Linked DNA regions of Homo sapiens: region 2 is linked to region 1. The links are contacts of gene promoters, found by promoter capture Hi-C in human tissues and cell types (Jung and others, 2019). All regions are on one chromosome and are shown on one strand. The core of a region is centred on a gene start or on the middle of the fragment in contact, and the rest is flanking DNA. Distances in the headings are between cores, read along the strand shown. Region 1 holds the start of MAP1B (microtubule associated protein 1B). Region 2 overlaps MAP1B (microtubule associated protein 1B).

What was found. The method cuts DNA at HindIII sites, captures the fragments that hold promoters and counts their contacts. A contact is called where the count stands out against the background at its distance.
Region 2: a contact is called between a fragment that was not itself captured here and the fragment with the promoter of MAP1B in region 1, in 1 of the 25 tissues and cell types used here (bladder).

The regions. Positions count from the first base shown.
Region 1 is chr5:72,106,083-72,108,874 of GRCh38, forward strand. It overlaps MAP1B (microtubule associated protein 1B), which reads left to right and starts at 1,393. Exons shown (of 7, transcript NM_005909.5): 1 at 1,393-1,633. The coding sequence starts at 1,450. It overlaps LOC105379028 (a long non-coding RNA gene), which reads right to left. Exons shown (of 3, transcript XR_007058813.1): 1 at 2,693-2,792; 2 at 1,843-1,905. RefSeq lists enhancers at 1,312-2,294, 2,700-2,792. The HindIII fragment of the contact is 7,344 bases long and covers 1-2,792 here.
Region 2 is chr5:72,157,996-72,160,787 of GRCh38, forward strand. The region is part of intron 2 of MAP1B (microtubule associated protein 1B); the gene reads left to right. Among named protein-coding and RNA genes, the nearest start is that of MIR4803, 10 kb to the right of the region's middle. RefSeq lists an enhancer at 115-614. The HindIII fragment of the contact is 3,214 bases long and covers 1-2,792 here.

The sequences.
Region 1 (2,792 bases), core at 143-2,642:
TATCTATCTATCTATCTATCTATCTATCTATCTATCTATCTATCATCTATATTTTACTAACAGGCATTCTAGTATTAAAGCTATGTTGACTAATTTCCATCTATTCCTCTTCCTTAAAGCTCGAATTCCCCAGTCTTCTATGATACCATGTTTGCACATTTTGCTCTTTCCTCACCCTCCTCCCCTTTTCTGGGACAGAAGCTATATTCAGTATGTTTGTGAGAAACGGTTGTAAATAGGCTGCCTTAAAAAAAAAAACAAAAAAACAAAAACAAAAAACACATTTTTTAGTTCTTCTAAACACAAACAAAGGCAATAAAAATTCCCAATGCTACAGGTATTTTAAAAGACATCATTGTCACGAGGTAATTTTGCTTGTGTGTTCCCCAAGGAACTGAAAAGTACATTATAGTCACTGTAACCCTGCTGAGTAGAGACAGTATCTTCTCTTTATTCTTTGTTATTACTGATACTATCTGTTCAGCACATTAAGGAAAGAAATTGGTATCTAATATAATACATCTGCATTTCTCTCATTTCCCATGAGCACCACAAAGCCAGTACTTTTTCATCCTTGGCCCTGCCAGAGTAGAATCCAAGGCCTGAACAATAGTAGGCTTAAGTTTTGCATTTTTGATGTATTCTTTAAGTGAAGGTGGTAAATATTGATATTGGTAAATATCAGTAAATTCGTCTTCTTAAAGCCACAAGGTCAAAGAAAAGACAGGTTCCGTCTTCCTAGGCGGGGTACCCACAGCCCCGCATCTGCCCACTGTGGCTATCCCAGTTCCTGAGAACCTGGCTACATCATACACAGCACACAAGGCAGAGGCCTGACTAGTGCAACTCCAACAAGAGAAAAGACCCCCACTCCGAAAATGGAAACTCATCCCATTCCCATGCACAGACAGGGTGAGGGTGAGGAGTGGGCAGTGGGTGTGTACGTGGTGGGTGGTGTAGGTTGAGAGCGTCTTCCCCCTTCACGGCTGCAGCAGGAGCTCAGCGGGCGCCCCAGCCCCTTGGCTCGCGGCCCTGCCCCGACCATTGTCCGCACACCTCGTCCCTCCAGCTTCCGGGCCGCGGGCGAGATGATTTGCTGCAGATGACATCAGCCCCGGGCCAACGGCTGGAAGAGCGGAGGCAGCCACCGCGTGAGGATGTGCCGGGTGGTCCTTTCCTCCTCCTCTTCCTCCTCCTCCCGGCTCCCTGCCTAGTCTCCATATAAAAGCGGCGCCGCCTCCCCGCCCTCTCTCACTCCCCGCTCCTCTCCGCCGCGCACTCTCCGCGGCGCTGGGAGAGGGCGGAGGGGGAGGCGGCGCGCGGCGCCAGAGGAGGGGGGACGCAGGGGGCGGAGCGGAGACAGTACCTTCGGAGATAATCCTTTCTCCTGCCGCAGTGGAGAGGAGCGGCCGGAGCGAGACACTTCGCCGAGGCACAGCAGCCGGCAGGATGGCGACCGTGGTGGTGGAAGCCACCGAGCCGGAGCCGTCCGGCAGCATCGCCAACCCGGCGGCGTCCACCTCGCCTAGCCTGTCGCACCGCTTCCTTGACAGCAAGTTCTACTTGCTGGTGGTCGTCGGCGAGATCGTGACCGAGGAGCACCTGCGGCGTGCCATCGGCAACATCGAGCTCGGTAAGTGGCCCCGCGCCCCCAGAGACGCGCGCTGGGAGACGCGCAAACACGACCCCACCCAGGGCGCGACGGTCACTGCGCTCCTCCCGCGCGCCCCGCACCCATGCCTCTCCTCGTCACCTCTCATACTTGGTCCAGACCCTTTCTGGGCTAATTAAGAATAATCCGAATTATTAGATATGAGACCCAGAGGGAGAGTCTCCAATAACCTTGAGGGATCTGTCACCACGCTGAGTCCGCAGCCTGTGCTGAGTTGGCCACCGCCTCTCCCGCTAAGTGAAATGCAGGTGTCAGGGGAGCAGAGGCCACAATAAAGCCGCAACCGCAGGAGGCAGAAGGGTGGGGGAGACCTGATGCAACCACTCCTTTCAGTCCTCTTCTGGCCTCAGGAAAAGGCTGGGACCCCCACCACCGCAGACCTGGGGCCGAAGCCCATGTGCCAGGGCCCGCGTGGGATTCATCCTCACCACGGCTACCTCAGCCCCTGAGAAACGCCTTTTCTGATTTCAAACCTCCCGATCCTTTCTTTCCTCAGAATGACTAGGCTAGTCCTAGGGCCACGCCCGCTCCCCCCGCCCCCCCCTCCCCGGGGAGATGCTGGGATGCAGAACCGCCTGCGCTTCGCCACCAGACAGAGCCCGCCTCGCTACCGCCCTTGGGGCCTTGGCTGCAGCTCTCAGAAAGGACAATGGGACCCCAAGTTGCGGGGTGGGGCTGCTGCTTTTAGAAGTCCCAGCCTCGGGAGTGGTAGCTTGAAGGGGGTCGGTGAGGGAGACGTCAGCGGGTAGGGTCAGCTCCTCGCCCGGTGCTCGCACCAGTGGCGCGCTCTGCGGAGGCCGAATAGCGGTACGCCGGGGACCCTGGGCGGGGCCGTGAGGGTCCGGCGGGCACAGCCTCGGGCGCACAGAGAGACCGCCCCCAGCCCCACCCGAGCTGCCGCAGTGCCTCCGGACCGCCCGCCACACCTGCCCCCCCACACTGCGGCGCCCCCGTCGGGCACGGCTGGCTGGGCTTGCGCTCCGCCCGGGCCTCGGGCTGGCGGGGGCCGCGCGCCCCCACCTCTCAGTTTGCCTGGCTTTGTTGCCCTGGGAGTCCCTGGGTGGGCAGCTCTGGTCTCTGCCTTTCCCTTTATCCCTGGCGTCCCGGCCCTCCCCTCGCT
Region 2 (2,792 bases), core at 175-2,674, 52 kb after region 1:
CACCTGGCTAATTTTTTTTTTTTTTTTTTTTTGAGATGGAGTCTCGCGTTCGCCCAGGCTGGAGTGCAGTGGCACGATCTCAGCTCACTGCAGGCTCCGCCCCCCGGGGTTCACGCCATTCTCCTGCCTCAGCCTCCCGAGTAGCTGGGACTTCAGGTGCCTGCCACCTCGCCCGGCTAATTTTTTGTATTTTTAGTAGAGATGGGGTTTCACTATATTGTCCAGGGTGGTCTCGAAATCCTGACCTTGTGATCCGCTCACCTCAGCCTCCCAAAGTGCTGGGATTATAGGCATAAGCCACCGTGCCTGGCCTATCCCCCGATTCTTATGATAGCCCTTGTAATCTGATGTATTAGTAAGAGATAGTGGGAAACTCTAAACGATGCAAACCTAAATGAACCTTAAATCTTGTCTCACTTCATACAACGATTTAGGTGATTAAAGCAGTTGGAGAAAAGAAAGAGGAGAGGTGTTTGGGAAAATGTGAATGGATTCCTTTAAACACAGCACAAGGGAGCTGCCCTATGGTTGAAGGGGAAGGAAGTTTTCAATGGTGTTTGAATTATGTGATTTGAGTATGACTAATTTGGAGAGGACCACTGATGTATTGATTGGTAAAGTAATGACAACTTGAAATTTTGGTGATTTCCTAATGAGACCCAAATCCTGGGCTCAGTGGAAATGAATATGGAAGGCGACAGGTAGGATTGATGTAATAAAAAGCTGGTGCCCTTATTGTTCTAAGACTCGTATGTGGTGAGGCAGTTTGGGTATAAGTGCTCATGGGCAGAAGACATTTGAATGGAGCATAACTAGAGACAAGAATCTGGGCCCAGAGAGGTTTTATGTAAATGCATATAATTTGATGTTGAAAGGGTTCACTTATGCAGAAAGTTAGAGATTTGGGCAACATGGCCTAATCACTAGTGATTATAGCAACACCCATTTCTTGAGTATCCACATGCCAGGCTTCTTACCTGTAAGACCTCACTTAATCCTCACAACAGCCATATGGGGTGTGAGTACTGTTATTCCCATGTACGATTGAGGAACCTGAGGGTCAGAGAGATTAAATAATCAGCCCAAGGTCATAGTTAGCAAGTTGTAGGGCTGGGATTTGAACTTATGTTTGCCAGTCTCCAAAGCCTCTTTCAGAGCCTCTAGAAGAGAAGGAACCTTGTGCAATCAAGACTGGAAGAAAAAAAACAGTCCTAGATGAAAGATTGTAAAAAGGCTGCTTTTGGAACTCACAGAAGGGTACTGAAAAAAAACTGTAGAAAGGTGATCTTTCTTTGAAGAAGAGTGTTTAGATTAGTACAGTATGTTACTACTCTGTTGTCCCTACATTTGGACTTATTTCTTAGGAGTCCTTGGTGATTCTTTGGAATTTCTCTGAAGAGAGCAAAAATGTCTGGTGTCTGGAAGCTACTAAAAAGGCAGATAGATAGTGTATGTTAACATAATGAAAAATATCACTAGATGCCTACTTCCTGTGGACTAGCAAGTAAACACTGGGCCATCTTCAAGCTTGGCTGTGTATGTACAAATATCTGTTTAAGTTGACCATCTGCTGTTGTATTGTTGATAAACACCATTATACCAGTGATTTAACTTATGCCCTGGAGGAAGAAGTGCCTTCTAGAATCTCTTAATGGCCATAAAACATTGGCGTTGATAGATTTTAGAGGCAGGCAGCCTTCAAGGCATTCAATGATGAAAATAAAGAAACATTTGTGAAAATTCAGTGAAGATTTCAGAGGCCCTACAGGAACTAGGAGCTTCATACCAAGTTCACATTTGAGTCTGAGTTCAGTTTTAAAGGAAATGACTTTCCATGACAGAATAGTGTGAGATCCAGGCCTTACTCATGGTTGTTGAGTACATGCAGCCTCCAGCCACACGAAATAATACGTTCACCTGGTAAAGAGTGGGGGCTTCATCAGAATCACACCCAACTAGCTCCTTCTCTATGCCTTGTCTTCCTCCAGCGTCTTGTAGAGCTAAAATGTGATGACTCTTTTAGTTTGTATGGAGGAGGGTAAAAATGTGTTTTCAAACTGAGCAAGGGAAGAAGTTTCAGCCATTCCTTTATCTTCTTCCCCTTTTTTTGTATTTCCATTTTCACTTTGAGCATAAATGGGAATCAGAAGGTAGGAGGGAGGATGTTATTATGGATCAGGGACCGAGAATAAAGGGCAGTTTTCAGCTGTATGTTGGAAACTTAAAAAAAAAAAAAAATCCAAACCAAAAAAACTTTCTGTATTCATTCCGTTTTGGAAAAGACTCTGAAAAAGGAATCACATCTTTGATCAAGAGCAATGGTATTAGGTCTTTTACTACAAATTATACTTTTCTGTGAGCCTGTATTTATTTTGCCAGGCTTGAAATAGCTGATGTTATTTAAACAACTGTGTGACTATTGTCTAGGAAATGAGTGTAGGCTGGGAATAGCCTGGCTGATTACATTGTTTAGAAATGAGCCTTATTTTTTGCAGTCCCTTTAGGTGGGAGGGTTCATGAATGTTCCTGTGGTTGGTTGTTCCATGGTGTCTTCTGTTTATATCAAGTCAGTAGCCTCATGATGTCATCATTTTATTCTACCGTATATCATTTTAAGCCTACTGAAGAATGAACAGAGCTAGTTCCATTCCTTGAGACAGATATATAGGCAACATCAAAGAAGACTAATCTTTGATTAGTCTTTGAAATCTCCTAATCTACAGAAAGTAGAGACTAGGGCAAACAGTGGGGCTCCCACCCTCTCCACCTCAGGGACCAGAATCCTCATTGTG